Linked DNA regions of Homo sapiens: region 2 is linked to region 1. Evidence: promoter capture Hi-C in 16 types of primary human blood cells and fetal thymus (Javierre and others, 2016). All regions are on one chromosome and are shown on one strand. The core of a region is centred on a gene start or on the middle of the fragment in contact, and the rest is flanking DNA. Distances in the headings are between cores, read along the strand shown.

Region 1 (7,177 bases), core at 1,497-3,996:
TCATGACCAGACATAGCTAGAAGTCATACAGCTCTTGTTTCCCTATTTTACAAATGCATCAAAAAAAATCAACAGAATATGAATATCAGTTTATTGACAGAAATCAAGAATTTGGTGGCTTCTGACTCTTCACGATTCTGAAATAATATCTGTGATAACTCTCATTGGGCATCTGCTGTCACCAAGTATTCGGTGCTAAGCACATTATGTATAAGTATACAAAATTTCATGTAATGCTTACGTCAGCCTCATAAAGTAGAGTCTATGATTCCCATACAGGTGAGAAAATTAAGGTTCAGAGCAGTCAAGTAGACTAAAGCTACTTGGCAGGTCATTGCAGAACCAGGGCTCAGAGTCGCTGAAGTTCTGAAGCATTGTGCTGCTCTGCCCCGATTCAAGTTCAATTCCAGCTAAAAAGCCCAATAATCACTGGGAAGTTTCAGTCATTGAATACAAAATCACCAAAAGATTTGACTATATAGGTTTTCTTTTTCCTTTTTTTCTAAGTTACTTGGATTTTGAAATAGCTATAGGATTCTGAGTAGATATTTTGCTGTCAAAACAACACATCCATAAAGCATTTTAAACTTCTCTTATACGCTCTAGAAATTAGGTATTTTGTTCAATTTCAATAAGACACACCCTGGCCAGGTGCAACGGCTCATGCCTGTAATCCCAACACTTTGGGAGGTCAAGCCAGGCAGATCATGAGGTCAGGAGTTTAAGACTAGCCTGGCCAACATGGTGAAACTCCTGTCTCTACTAAAGATACAAAAAATTAGCCTGGCATGGTAGCACGCACCTGTAATCCCTGCTACTCGGGAGGCTGAGGCAGGGGAATCACTTGAACCCAGGAAGCAGAGGTTGCAGTAAGCGAAGATCGCACCATTGCACTCCAGCTTGGGCAACAAGAGCAAAACTCCGTCTACAAAAAAAAAAAAAAAAAAAGGCCCTAAGCAACTCCACCCTGCCTCTAAGTGGGCCCCCTTGGAAGGCATGGAACCAGAGCACCATTTAGTCAATAATTGCTGCTATGTGCTAATGGTGCCCTGGTGGCCTCCAGAATTGACTGCAGCTTCCAAAAGTGCCCAGCATGCAACCGGAAAGTGCTGTGGATCTTTGCAGAACCCAGCTCGATGGAAATCACTGAAAACAATTGCCTTTAGTGGCACTGTTATGTAACTACTGAGCATTCCCTGAATTCAGCTTTGCACATCTCACGTAGCAGGTATGTGACGAGTGTGAAGGTATGTGGGGAATGGGTGTGTTCTTTTTTCTGCGCTATCTGCTTCCCCAGTGGAAGGAGGCCATGGTGAGGATGAGGTACACTTACCTTTAGTTAAACAAGTTCTTTTCGGAAGGAGTACCTAAGGTCATAGCTGTGCTCCTGGGAAGGGGAGGCCAGGAGGCATCTAAAATGAGGTCTTACTGATGAAGACCCCCAGGTACTTGACAAAGAGTGTTTCCAACAAAAACAACTCTCAATACCATTTTCAAGCCGAACTTGCACACTTCTATTTGTTTGGATGTGGAGAGAGAAAAGAAGAAATCCACGTGGTGGGTAAAGCACCTGGGTCCACAGCCGAAAAATCCCGGGTTTAGTCTGTTTCACTATACAAAATTGGGCCATTTACCTGAGTTCCAGGCTCCACATATAAAACACAGACATAATATTACTCACCCATGTCACTGGGCTGCTGGGGGACTCTACTAGGACAACAGAGGCAAAGCTCTGATATAAGCTCTTTGCAAATGTAAGAAGTGGTCCTTATGTCACCCAGTTTAGGGCAGTGGTTGAGAGCAGACACATTCTGATCCCTCGAATCTGAATCCTATCTTTGGCCCATCTGGAAGTGGGACAAGTTTCTTAAACCTTTGTGCCTGGGTTTCCTATCTGGGGAAGAATAAATTAACAGATGCAAGGACCCTGAACAGTCCGGTTGGAGACTGCTCCAGTCCTTGGCACCGTCCTGCATTCTGTGGGTCCCAACAGTGTGGTGAAACCAGGAAGCCGACCAGCCATCCAACCAGGGTGTGGTCCTCTGGCTGAGACTCTCTATCCCACGTCTGGGCACCCATGCTACCAGCTGGCCTTGAATTCCAGGGATGCGGGAGGACAATGAGCATGAACGAAACGTGCCGAGTGGAGTTGAGAACGTAAAGGAAGAAGGGGGCGATGAGGACCTCTCCTGGGGAGATGAGGGCTGCCAAGTCCTAAGACACAGGCTCAGGGTCTGCAGGAAGGTCGGCTTGTTGGATCGTCTCTGTGCGCTGACTTCTCTTTGCTCCCCAGGGCCTCTACCCGCTGCCCTTGCTCAACAGCACCCTGGACGACGGGAAGGCCACCCTGACCCCTTCCAACACGCCACTGGGGCGCAACCTCTCGACTCACCAGACCTACCCCGTGGTGGCAGGTACAACGCCCGGAGCCTCCCTGGCAGGTGGAGGGCGGGGGACTGAAGAGCTTGGCTGGCTGTCAGGCGGAAGGTGTGGGGCCCTGGCCTGGAGAGGAGAGGCGGGCTGTGCCGGCCGGGCCGCCAGGTGGGCCCAGGGGTCGCGCCTCCGGTCCTAGGCCGGGCCTCAAGGTGGGCCGAGGGGTCGCGCCTCCAGTCCTAGGCCGGGCCTCAAGGTGGGCCCAGGGGTCGCGCCTCCGGTCCTAGGCCGGGCCTCAAGGTGGGCCGAGGGGTCGCGCCTCCAGTCCTAGGCCGGGCCTCAAGGTGGGCCGAGGGGTCGCGCCTCCGGTCCTAGGCCGGGCCTCAAGCTGGGCCGAGGGGTCGCGCCTCCGGCCCTAGGCGGCTCCCGTAAGGTGGGCCGAGGGGTCGCGCCTCCAGTCCTAGGCCGGGCCTCAAGGTGGGCCCAGGGGTCGCGCCTCCGGTCCTAGGCCGGGCCTCAAGGTGGGCCGAGGGGTCGCGCCTCCGGTCCTAGGCGGCTCCCGCAAGGTGGGCCGAGGGGTCGCGCCTCCGGTCCTAGGCCGGGCCTCAAGCTGGGCCGAGGGGTCGCGCCTCCGGTCCTAGGCGGCTCCCGCAAGGTGGGCCGAGGGGTCGCGCCTCCAGTCCTAGGCCGGGCCTCAAGGTGGGCCCAGGGGTCGCGCCTCCGGTCCTAGGCCGGGCCTCAAGGTGGGCCGAGGGGTCGCGCCTCCGGTCCTAGGCCGCTCCCGGGTCTCCGCGCTCCCTCCTGTGGGAGAGGCGGGCGCACACACGCCTTCCGGGTCTCTCCATTTTCGCTGCAGAAGCGCAGCAGGGAGGTCTAGCTTCTCTCTCCCCGCCTTGCCACGCCTCGTGGGCCCCGGCTCTCCCCAGCCCAGACTCTGAGGGCAGCTGAGCCTGCCCCGCGCCCCGCCCGCACCCTCCACATCCCACGGCTTGGCTTGTGCGTGTTCCCTCCCCGCCATCTCACACCCCTCTCTCCTTGTTGTCTCCCTCCCTCCGGCAGATCCTCACTCACCCTTCGCCATAAAGCAGGAAACCCCCGAGGTGTCCAGTTCTAGCTCCACCCCTTCCTCTTTATCTAGCTCCGCCTTTTTGGATCTGCAGCAAGTCGGCTCCGGGGTCCCGCCCTTCAATGCCTTTCCCCATGCTGCCTCCGTGTACGGGCAGTTCACGGGCCAGGCCCTCCTCTCAGGTACGACAGGGAGGTCCCGGGGCCATGCAGCTATGGCGGCGGGTGGGACGGGGGTCCTCAGGGCAGACCGCCAGCCCCCTCTCTGGCCTCAGTCTCATCCACCCCCACCCTGTTCCCTAATTCCTCCGGCAACTTTTGGAGGCGCCAACATGAAGTTCTCTGTGACGGGGAAGACATGCTCGGAAGGGGCGGATGCTGTAGGGGTGCCGGGGATGCACCACCCCAAGACCCCATGGAAAAGCAGGAACCCTAAGGCCGGGAGCCGGGTGCTGTAACGTAGCAACTTGGCCTTGGTAAATGCATAAATAGATAGAAGGAAAAATGAACATTTTGGAGGGAAAAAGGAATTGGCTTTTGGAGCCCATTTCTGGATCAAATTTCTAAAAAGGCCAAGGGTCAGTCCCAGTTGTGTTTCCATGATGCAGCTATCTTCATTCCTAGCTTAACAGCATCACCGGGAGGACAGTCAGACATCTGTTAAACATGATAAATTCAGTGATTCAACAACTTGAGAGGAGTGGGGGACCTCCCATCAGGAACCTCAACTGCCTCAAAATATTTAAAGCTGGAAGCACCGACCGGGCGAGGTGGCTCACCCCTGTAATTCCAGCAGTTTGGGAGGCCGAGGCAGGTGGATCACAAGGTCAAGAGTTCAAGACCAGCCTGGCCAAGATGATGAAACCCCATCTCTACTAAAATTCAAAAAATTAGGGGGTGTGGTGGCAGACACCTGTAATCCCAGCTACTGGGGAGGCCGAGGCAGGAGAATCGCTTGAACCCAGGAGGCATAGGTTGCAGTGAGCTGAGGTGGCGCCATGGCACTCCAGCCTGGGTGACAGAGCAAGACTCCATCTCAAAAAAGAAAAAAACAAATAAATAAAAATAAGTAAATCTGGAAGCACCTGAGGGAGCCTCTAGATCAAACCTCTTATGCTGATGAGGAACCTGGCCCAGGGAGGAGAAGGTCCCTGCCAAGGTCTCTGGGCAGGAGCACCATCTGTAGCTGGTTGAGGCCTGGGCCTGCACTGCATGAGTCAGACCTCAAGGGGAGCTGGCTCCTCCTGGCAGAAGGACCTTCGCTCATCCAGCCAGGGCCTGAGGAATGGCTGAGAGTCAAGCGCTTGGCTTGGGTTGGAGAGGGCCTGAGATGCAGTGAAAGTGGGAAGCAGAGACCCATATGGTCTTCAGATACCTCAAGGGCTTCCACAGGGATAGGACTATTTTAGATGTGGGCCCAGTGGGGGCCCAGGACCAGGGAAGGAAGCCAGCTAGCTCTCAGTTCAGCATTGGAGGAATCTCTTTAATAGCGGCACTGTCTCCAAGGAGTGTGGGTATTTAGTGACAGAAGTAAATGCCTCTTCACCTCCCACACCCTCCTACCCCGACGACCTTGAAATGCTGGAGCAGAGACCAGTGCGTGGGTGGGGTGTGTGAGACCTGTCACAGAGGCAGCCCAGAGTCAGACAGTCCATCTGGACCAGTGGTTTCAAATTTGGGCCTCTCAATGCTCTCTTGAAATGAAGCCTTTTACAGAAGACATGTATGCTCACCAGACCCCTGAAGAACTGCTCTTTTAGAAGGGGTCCCTGCCCCTAGAAAGCCCTTGGACTTCGAAACCACTGCACCAGAGGATTAAGACCTCTACAAGCCCAGAGTAACCACAGGGTCATGTGATAAAAGTCCCTGGACCCTTTTTTTTTTGTTTTTTTGTTTTTTGAGATGGAATCTCACTCTGTTGCCCAGGTTGGAGTGCAGTGGCGCGATCTCAGCTCACTGCAACCTCCACCTCCTGGGTTCAAGTGATTCTCCTGCCTCAGCCTCCCGAGTAGCTAGAACTACAAATGGGCGCCACTACACCCGGCTAATTTTTGTATTTTCAGTAGAGATGGGGTTTCACCATGTTAGCCAGAATGGTCTCAATCTCCTGACCTTGGTCCGCCCACCTTGGCCTCCCAAAGTGCTGGGGTTACAGGTGTGAGCCACTGCACCCAGCCCATGGACCCTTTTTTATAACTGGCTCTACATTTTCTTTCTGGCTGGCACCCGGGTTTTTTTTTTTTTTTCCTCCGTACATCCCAGCACCTAATGTGAGAAGTTTCCTTAGAAGAGAGGGACATCCAGTGTGTGGGCAGAGAGATGGTGTTTAAGGGTCTAAAGCGAGGAGTTGACTTGGAGTTCAAGAATTCAAGAGGGTGAAGGCAGCAGAGATGGGTCATTTGTTTTGACCAAAGTGATGAAAAGAGCAAAACCTGTGAGCTGAGTAAAATTATGTCAGCCAGAGAAAATGGGATGCGGGGTAGGGAGGGGAATGAGAGGATAGTGGAGAGGAAGGGAGGGGAAGGGAAGGGAGGGGAGGGGAGGGGAGGGGAGGGGGTGAGGAGAAGAGGTTCATGTCAGTTACAGGGAGTTACGCAAGCCTGCATGTCTTCTGAGAATGGCAGGCTAGAGCTGGCGGCGGTCATGGGGCAGGCAAGGGGTGAGGGTGTGGTGGTGCCCATGATGATGGGGAGCAGGTGCTGTGGAAGCCGCGGAGAAGCTTGGCAAGACCAGCTGAAGGAGAGGGAAGGATGTAGGGCAGCTGGAAGTGGATAGATGTATCAGAGTGCAGACATAGGCTGTAGTGTAAAGTGCAACTGGAACAGCCCAGGGCAAACTCCCTACTCCCAAAGCCCCTACACTTTGTCCCCTCCCTGTCATCCTGTTAGCATCCCCTGTCAACATGCAGTCAATCAGAGGTGACGCCTCCAACTACTGTCAGCTGTTAATTTAGTGGACATGCCCACTCTCCAGGCCAACTGCAGGACTGAGAGGTCACCCAACCCATGGGACAAAACAGCTGGCAGCAGACACCAGGTAGTCATGTAGGAAGCAGGCAGCCAAATATGCAGCACCGGCATATCTTTCAGGCTGGTGGCCCCCAATCCAGGCCCAGATGATGCTGAAGTGCAGGTGTGAGCACTTTGAAGGTTGCTGGCTGGTCACAGGGCCCCCTAGCCCAAGGGTTGACAATTCAGCACAGAGGCAGAGGCTCTGAAAAGAGTGAGGAGTGCTAGCCTTGGAGGATCTGGGGTCCAGGCAAATGGCCAAGAGTAGGAAGCAAGTCAGAAAGCAGCTCAGGCACAAGGGAGGGGATGGCTGGTGTCCATGCTGAGCTCAGGGTGTTGGCCTGGAGCTCCTTACAGACTGTCCACCTGAGGCCTCTGGTCAAGACTGGATCTCAATACCTAACACGTGGCTGAGCCATGGTGAGAGAGCTGGGAGGACATGACGGGGGGCGGTGGGGAAGGTTAGGAAGGGAATGGTTCCAGGAGCGCAGGAGGCTGCAGACCTTCCCAAGAAGAGGTGAATTTGAAAGAAAGAGAAGGAACCTGGGCCCAATGGCTCACACCTGTAATCCCAGCACTTTGGGAGGCCAAGGTGGGTGGATCACCTGAGGTCGGGAGTTCGAGACCAGCCTGACCAACATGGAGAAACCCCATCTCTACTAAAAATACAAAATTAGCCAGGCGTGGTGGCACATGCCTGTAATCCCAGCTACTCGGGAGGCTGAGGCAGG
Region 2 (7,177 bases), core at 3,365-5,864, 120 kb before region 1:
CTGAGCATCTGCTACAGACTGGTTTCTATGTTCCAAAGCTGAGATTAAAAATCAAAATAACTTCTGCAATGAACTAAAGCTGGTAAGTGTTGGAGCTGAGACCTGAATCCAGGACTTCCTGGCTCTGAAGCACAAATTTGAAGCAGCCTTCTTCACCTGCAGGAGCCAGGCCTGCATCAGTCATCTGTTTATAAGGCCAACAGCCTGATCACCTCTTGCAATCAACCAACAGGTAGGAAATCTTGCAATTGGTTACAAAAAATTGTCTACTGACAGATTTGTGTGGCCTTCAAGTAGAGACATCTCTTGGACAGGAATTGCTCAGGGAGTCACTGGACCACAGCTGGATTCTCAGAGTCCAGTGTTCCCTCATCACCACACTTCTTAAAGGCCAAGTGGCCTTACTTGTTATGTGGACCAAATCTCCAGCTGATCGACTCCTTTTTAAGCCTTTACGATGGAGTCCCTTCTATTCCAGAAGCTCAAAGCTACCTCCAGAGGAAAATAAGCCATCAGGGTTTAAGATAGCCTATACTGTCCCCTCACCTTTACTGTCTTCCCCACCTTAGCCATTTTGCTAAAGTGCCAAAGAGCACATGGCTCACCTCTCTGACCCAGACCACAATACTGAGTCAACCAAGGAAGTGACTCAAGGAACAGAGTGAATTGGGGATACCATTGAGGGCTCCAGACACCAAACCTGCAACGGTGATACATCTGTCTCCCACTAAGATTTTTGACTTCTAAAGGGTTACTTGAGTCAATGAGTTTTTATTTTCATGAGGGATCTTCAATGGGTCCCAGAAAAAAAACAAGTTATCTACATAATCATTCTTAGAACCTTCTGAGCACTGATGCATTCCTGAGCTGTCAGCTGCTGCTCCTCTCCCTCCCTCCCCACACCAGCTGCACACACACACACACACACACACACACACACACACACTCACCTTCCTGCTAAAGACTCTGAGCACCAAAAAATTTGAACTGTTCCTGGCTGTAGCCAACAGAGTATGGAAAGCAATTGTTTTCAGCAAAGTCTTGCCCAAATGTGGAAGATGAATGTTCTCAGTGGACAGGCCCAACACCAAGCTCCTAAGGAGCACCTTCCTACCTAAGGGAGGGAGATGTACAACCTGCATTGACAGACGCAGGGCCATCAGCTCTGAGGGCAAATGCCCCTTGCAGAACCTGTCAAGAAATAAAATTGTCTCCCATCTGAGAACTAGGGGTAGGGGTGAGGGACTTGAGGGAGAAGTATGTTTCTTGTTTTCTGATTTCCAGGGATTTTTAAACAGCCCTCAGTTTTTTTTTAAATAAGGGCTATATTATAGCTTTAAAAATAAGGGCTATATTTCCAAATCCTTCCTAAACTGATATATTTTCTAAGAAAAGGCAGTCTTTGAGCACCAACATATATTTAAGAGAGTCAGAAATGCCCGGCATGGGACACTTGGCTCCCATCCTTCATGAAACTATTTTCAGAGCATCTAAATATTTTCCCCGGACAACCCTAATAACCCACTGTGGGTCTCCAGCTATAGGACCTTGGGAAATTCATCTGACATCTCTGGATGTCACCCTCCTGCTCTATAAAATAAAGGTGTGATCATCAAGATGCCTCCCAGTTTTAAATTGTATGATTCAACTCAACTGTGAATTGGTGTAGACCAAGTGTTGGCAAACTACAGCTTGCTGGTCAAATCTGGGCCTTGCTAATTGTGTAAATAGCATGTTAATAGAACCCAGTCATGCTCATTCATAGGTACTGTCTATGGCTACTTTTGTACTACAATGGCAGAGTTGAGCATTTAGGGCAGTGTTGATCCACAAAGCCAGAAATATTTACTCTGATCTTTTACAGAAAATGTTTGCTCACTCCTGGTTTCAACCATTAGAAACTGAGAGCTTGAATTTGACAATGGGAAGCCAGGCGTTCTGTAGGGAGCTCACAGCAATATGTTCATAGGATGGGATTCTATTTATATTTTCAGCCTGTGCCACCTCTTGGGATCACACAGCAGGCAGCAAACTTATGGAACGTGGTAAGTAGAACTTTCTTGTCATTGTCCTAAAACTGCTGGTTGTAAGCTTCAGTGAGTGCCACCTTGGCAGGCAGGCTGTCTCCCTCTTGGTTCTCTCCACATCCTAGAGATTTCCATCATGCCCTGCTCACTCTGCCTTTTTTCAGATTTTACTGCTTTTTAAAAATCTGTCCTCAAACAGAAGCCTTTTCTTCCCCTTGAGTGTTTTAATTGCTCTTCTCTGGACCATGTCCAGGATCATTATGTCTTCACAAGAGCCTGTGACCAGACCTACACACTTTCAGGAGCAGACACTGTGGTTGCAAGCAAAGAGAAACATTTTGACTATGGAGCTCTGGGGTTGAGGGCTGGGCTTTGTGATCAGACCTGGGTTAGAATCCAGACTCTCACACCTTCTAGATATGTGACCTTTGTCAGTGACAGCATCTCTGCTACAGACCCTAAAGTGGTTGTGCATAATGAGTCAGGGAGATGACAAGACACGATGTTCAGTGCAGAATCTGAATATTTACTCATTCAGGTATACAGTTTGCTGACGGTGTTCTGTGTATGGACTCCCATCTTCAGAGAAGCCAGCTGCGATTTCAACTATACATATTTGTGTGTGTGTATATATAAATGTATGTATATATGTACATATATGTGTGTATATGTATAGTATATATGTGTGTACATATATATGTAGTTGAAATCATAGCCGAAGTCTCTGAAGACAATTCACAAATATACACACACACATATACATGCATATGTAATTGTATATACAGTTGTATACTATATATATCTATATATTGACTTATATACACGTATACATATATACACATATATTTATGTATTGAAAACTAACAAAATTTATCTTCCTAACTGAGCATGAGGCCCCTTGCAGGGACTCAGCTTTACCCATCTTTCTGTACACCTAGGGATGTGTGAAATACCAGACTACCTTGCTGAAGGGACCCTACAGGCCACCTTGTAGCCCAGAAAAAAAAAAGTCCAGTAGAATTGAGCCGTAAATGAGAAGCAGTAATCGCAATAAATACCTGCGAATTCATATTCTAAAGTGAATGGCTCTTGGAATTCTTGTTTTAAAAGTTATTTAGCAAACACTTATTGAACACTTAATATGAGCCAAACCCCTTCAAGTAGGGTGTGGCCTTTGCATTCCTAAGTATTGGTTTACAGCTCATTAGGCCTTTGACAAGGCAGCTGGGGTTGAAGAGAAAGGTAACCCTGGAGTGTCCCAAGCCATTGTCACCTGGAGGTAATGCATCTCTGCAGCGTTAGGGAAAGCCCGTGAGAACATAAGCTTTATTCACCAGCACCAAAGGTATGCTCTAGCATTTAGGAAATGCACAATGCCTCAACTCCTTCTGGAATCCCACCTGGGCACCCAGCATCCTGCGAGTACAATTCGTCTGATTTTTTTCCTAAGCAGGTTGCCTGAACTCATCTGCCCCTTAGCTGCTAGACGGAGCTACTCTGCAGTTTCAGGGCCACAACAGATACTGACCATAAGAGTCTAATCTCAGACACGGTTTAAACACAGATGGCCCAAGGAACTCCATCTGAGAGCTGAGGGGAGCCCAAAATGTCTCCCTGCCTCAGCCCCAGGTAACTCTGGGTGCTTTAGAAAGCAAAAAAGTTGCCAAAGGCCTCTGCTTGCGGCTCCCATTACCCCTGAGCAAACCCCTATCTCTAATAGGATCACGCATTAATGACAGAGACAGGTCCTGGGAAGATTAAAGGCTTCGTATAATTAAAAAGATAAGAGTGGGCCTGGGAGAAGGAAATTGGGATTCAATTAACACAAGGACTCTCCCCCCAGCACTCCCCCGCTATCAAATGTTCCACTCAGAAGGGCCTTCCCGACTTGCCAGAGAGTGAAAGGCTGAAGGGCTCTTATTTATGGCCTGCTTGGAGTTGGGCCTGGGGCCTTCCTTGGCTGGGGAGTTTGTTTACTTAGAGTTCAAGAGGGGAGGGGAAGAGCAACACAAATCCTGCAGGAGGAGGCCACAAGGTGCTTTTGACTCCTTTTCTTTCCCTCTTAGTTCCTCTGATCTTCTTGACAGGGGAAGAAAAATACTCAATAGAAGGTCTATTTCCTTCCTCCCTCAGCCTGAGGCTGACACAACAGGCTAAGGGTCACTGCTGAGAAAGCTCTGTGGGGTTATTTGTGTTGGGAAAGCACAGCCGCTTCCCCCTTTCCGTCTTTCTCAGGTTTCCATGGAGGCAGAAGGAAGATAAGGTTGGAGAAGCAGCTGCCTAAATGGCCTGTGGGCCTGAACATGAGGGGTGCCCGGCCCTCAGGGACCCCCACTTCTTGTGTTCTTTCAAAGAGTTTTCAAGGTGGAAGAAAACAGAGTTGACTGGGGTTGCAGACTAAGCTGACACAGGTAGGGTGGGGACAGTGTGGCAGGCTCCAGCAAGCACCGGATCAGTACCTTCAGCCCTAGTACTTCTCAGCTAACTAGTGGTAAAGGTGGGCCTGGGCCTCAGGACCTTATGGAAATAGACATGAAGGTCCATTTGGATGGATGGACTGTGTTTTAAAAGCCTCTGCTTTTGCTAATGGATGGTGAAGCCCGTATGCTGTTGCACCCTCTCCCAGACTCTCTTCACAGGGACCCACAGACTCCTCCACTAGAACCCTCCCCAGCAGACAGCAGCTCCCCTTCAGTTGGTCTGTGGGCACTCGAAGCTGTGTGCAACCAGGCCAATGAGGTTGGTGAGGCTAAGGAGGATGGCCTTGAGAAAAACCAAGCCAGGACGTCTGGGATCAAGAAGACAGAACACACTACAACAGCTGGAAGGAGTGGAGAAATGTACAGATAAAGCAAAATAATCAGGATATGAGATCTCGTTCCATGCCCAGTTAATCATCTATAAGCTGTATTCAAGGCTGCACATTAACTTCACGAATACGCCACAGACACCTCAAGTGCAAGAGGTTTAAAGCCAAACTCCGTGTTTTAACCACCCAATATGTTTCCTTCCTGTGTTCCCAATTCCAGAAAATGCCTCGGTTAGGACTTTCTGAGCCTTAGTTTTTCAACCCACAAAATGGAGGGAGCAATGCCTGCTCTGTCTACCTGGGCTGCCAGAGTCAGGTGAGAACCCAGACAGAAACACACATTGGAAAATAACAAATGTGAGGAAGACAGAGACCAGAGCATGCTCACTCACTGCCAACATTGGTCACCTCGTTATTGACTCTCAAAGGAGGGACCCCGTCTCACATGAGCATGTGATGGCACCATGCAAATTGCAATGGGCTGCACCAGCAAAAGAATGACAAACCAATGAGGCTGGCACCATAAGACAAGAGCACCAGAGACTTCCTTCAGATGCTACACACAGACATTTCCACAGAGACCCGTTAGAGACTAAAACTGAATTTTAGTATGAAACAAGGGACTGACAATGACAGCAGGAATTTTCAGCAAGAAGGGAAAGGAGAGCAACACATAGCGGGCTTGAGGGAGGGCTAATTGGAGCAAGCAGGGATGTGGTTAAAAGGGGAGGACCTCAGCGGTAATCAACTATATCGCTTATTTCCCAGTGGAACCATTTAAACTGAGAGAGGATGTGGAGGTTAGCCTCCAGCATGGCTCACAGTGATCCCCATCTCCTGGAAATCATATCCTTGTGTAGTCTCCTCCCAGACTGAATAGGGGTGACCTGGAGAACCAATAGGGTATTGAGGTGATCACAGTGTTTGACTTCTGCACCTGTGTCATAAAGCACATAATGACATCTGCCTTGGATCACTCACTCTGTGGGAAGCCAGCTTCCCTGTGGTGAGGACACTCAAACAGTCTTAGGAAGAAGCTTCCATGGAGAGTAACTGCAGCCTCCTGACAACAGTCAGCAAGGAACTAAGACTTCCTGCCAACAGCCACATGAGTGACCCATCTTGGGAGATGATTCTCCAGCCCCAGTCAAACCTTCAGATGATGTGGTTCCAGCCAACGTCTTGAGAGCCTGTGAGCAGACTCCCAGTTACACCACTCCCAGATTTCTGACCCATTATACTATGAGATAATTAATAAATGATTGTTGTTTCAATTCACCCAAGTTTGGGGTTGTTTGTTATACATCAACAGATAACTACTACAGAGGGTGTATTTCATTTCTAATTACTTTCCGTATTTTTATACTATATCCACAGTCATTACCTCATCTGATTCTTACACTTACTTATTTTCTCTGGCTCAAAGATTCATAAGCTGTGTCTTGGAGAAGTTAAGTAGCATTTCCAAATTCACATTATGCATGGTGGCAGATCCAGGTGAAATTCCAAGCATTCTGACTTCTCATGTTTTCTCTCTGCATATAATCCAGATGCTGAAATCACATTCTGTGGGCAGCTGCATCATTGAACATTGTCTGGAGCCTGCTCTATTTTGAAAGAACTCTTTGCTGCATGCTCTAGGGCACAGATGGAGGCAGCATCATAGGTGGGTTAAGGAGTTACCTCATCTTTGGCACAACCTGCTAAGCTAACCTGAGTACTCCCAGCCATTATTCCACAAGCCTCTACCGAGTGCCTCCTGTATGACAAGTGTCATGGAACTCATATCAACAGCATGCATTTCCTGGAGGCACAGTTCAATAGAGAGCTGGGGGTGAAAAAAAAAAGAGAAAAGAAAAAATAAGAAAGCTATAACATTTGAGCTTGAAATGTCACAGGGAGCCAAGGAAGTTGTCTGATGGATTGCCCTGTCATCGCCAAGCCAAAAGAAAAAAAACTTTCAGATCCATCAATTTGTTCCTGCCCTTTTAATCCAAACAATATTTTACAGCATCAGAACGCAAAGAAATTATTTTCTTAGACATTCAACTCCGCATGTGGACTGCTGAGCACTTAACCAGAAAGCAGCAAGTGAGAACTGTAGGTTGTTCAAGTGTCTGCACATCTGATTGATCCAGATTGAATGTATAATATACTGGAACACATATGAGAGCCTACTGGTGACATATGTTCATTCATTCATTCATCCATGAGGAGTTGACATCTCTTTGCCATAGACAATGAATTTGAAGAGACACCTGTGTACACGTGCACCAGCTGCCCAGGATGAGGACTGCTCCTGCCTGCTCTGGACCTGCTCCTCCCTTTGGCTGGCTTTCCA

What was found. Contacts are between HindIII fragments. The CHiCAGO score rates a contact against its expected background, and 5 or more counts as called.
Region 2: a contact is called between a fragment that was not itself captured here and the fragment with the promoter of PAX8-AS1 in region 1, in 1 of 17 cell types (naive CD8 T cells). The highest score is 5.6, in naive CD8 T cells.

What each region holds. Positions count from the first base shown.
Region 1 is chr2:113,231,838-113,239,014 of GRCh38, reverse strand. PAX8-AS1 (PAX8 antisense RNA 1) reads right to left here and starts at 2,746. Exons shown (of 6, transcript NR_015377.2): 1 at 2,393-2,746. PAX8 (paired box 8) reads left to right here. Exons shown (of 12, transcript NM_003466.4): 8 at 2,294-2,414; 9 at 3,433-3,621. RefSeq lists a silencer at 3,330-3,409 and an enhancer at 3,660-3,849. The HindIII fragment of the contact is 8,895 bases long and covers 1-6,159 here.
Region 2 is chr2:113,352,544-113,359,720 of GRCh38, reverse strand. The region is part of intron 2 of LINC02966 (long intergenic non-protein coding RNA 2966); the gene reads right to left. LOC124906070 (a long non-coding RNA gene) reads left to right here and starts at 77. Exons shown (of 3, transcript XR_007087202.1): 1 at 77-232; 2 at 1,995-2,045; 3 at 4,263-4,346. The HindIII fragment of the contact is 2,522 bases long and covers 3,354-5,875 here.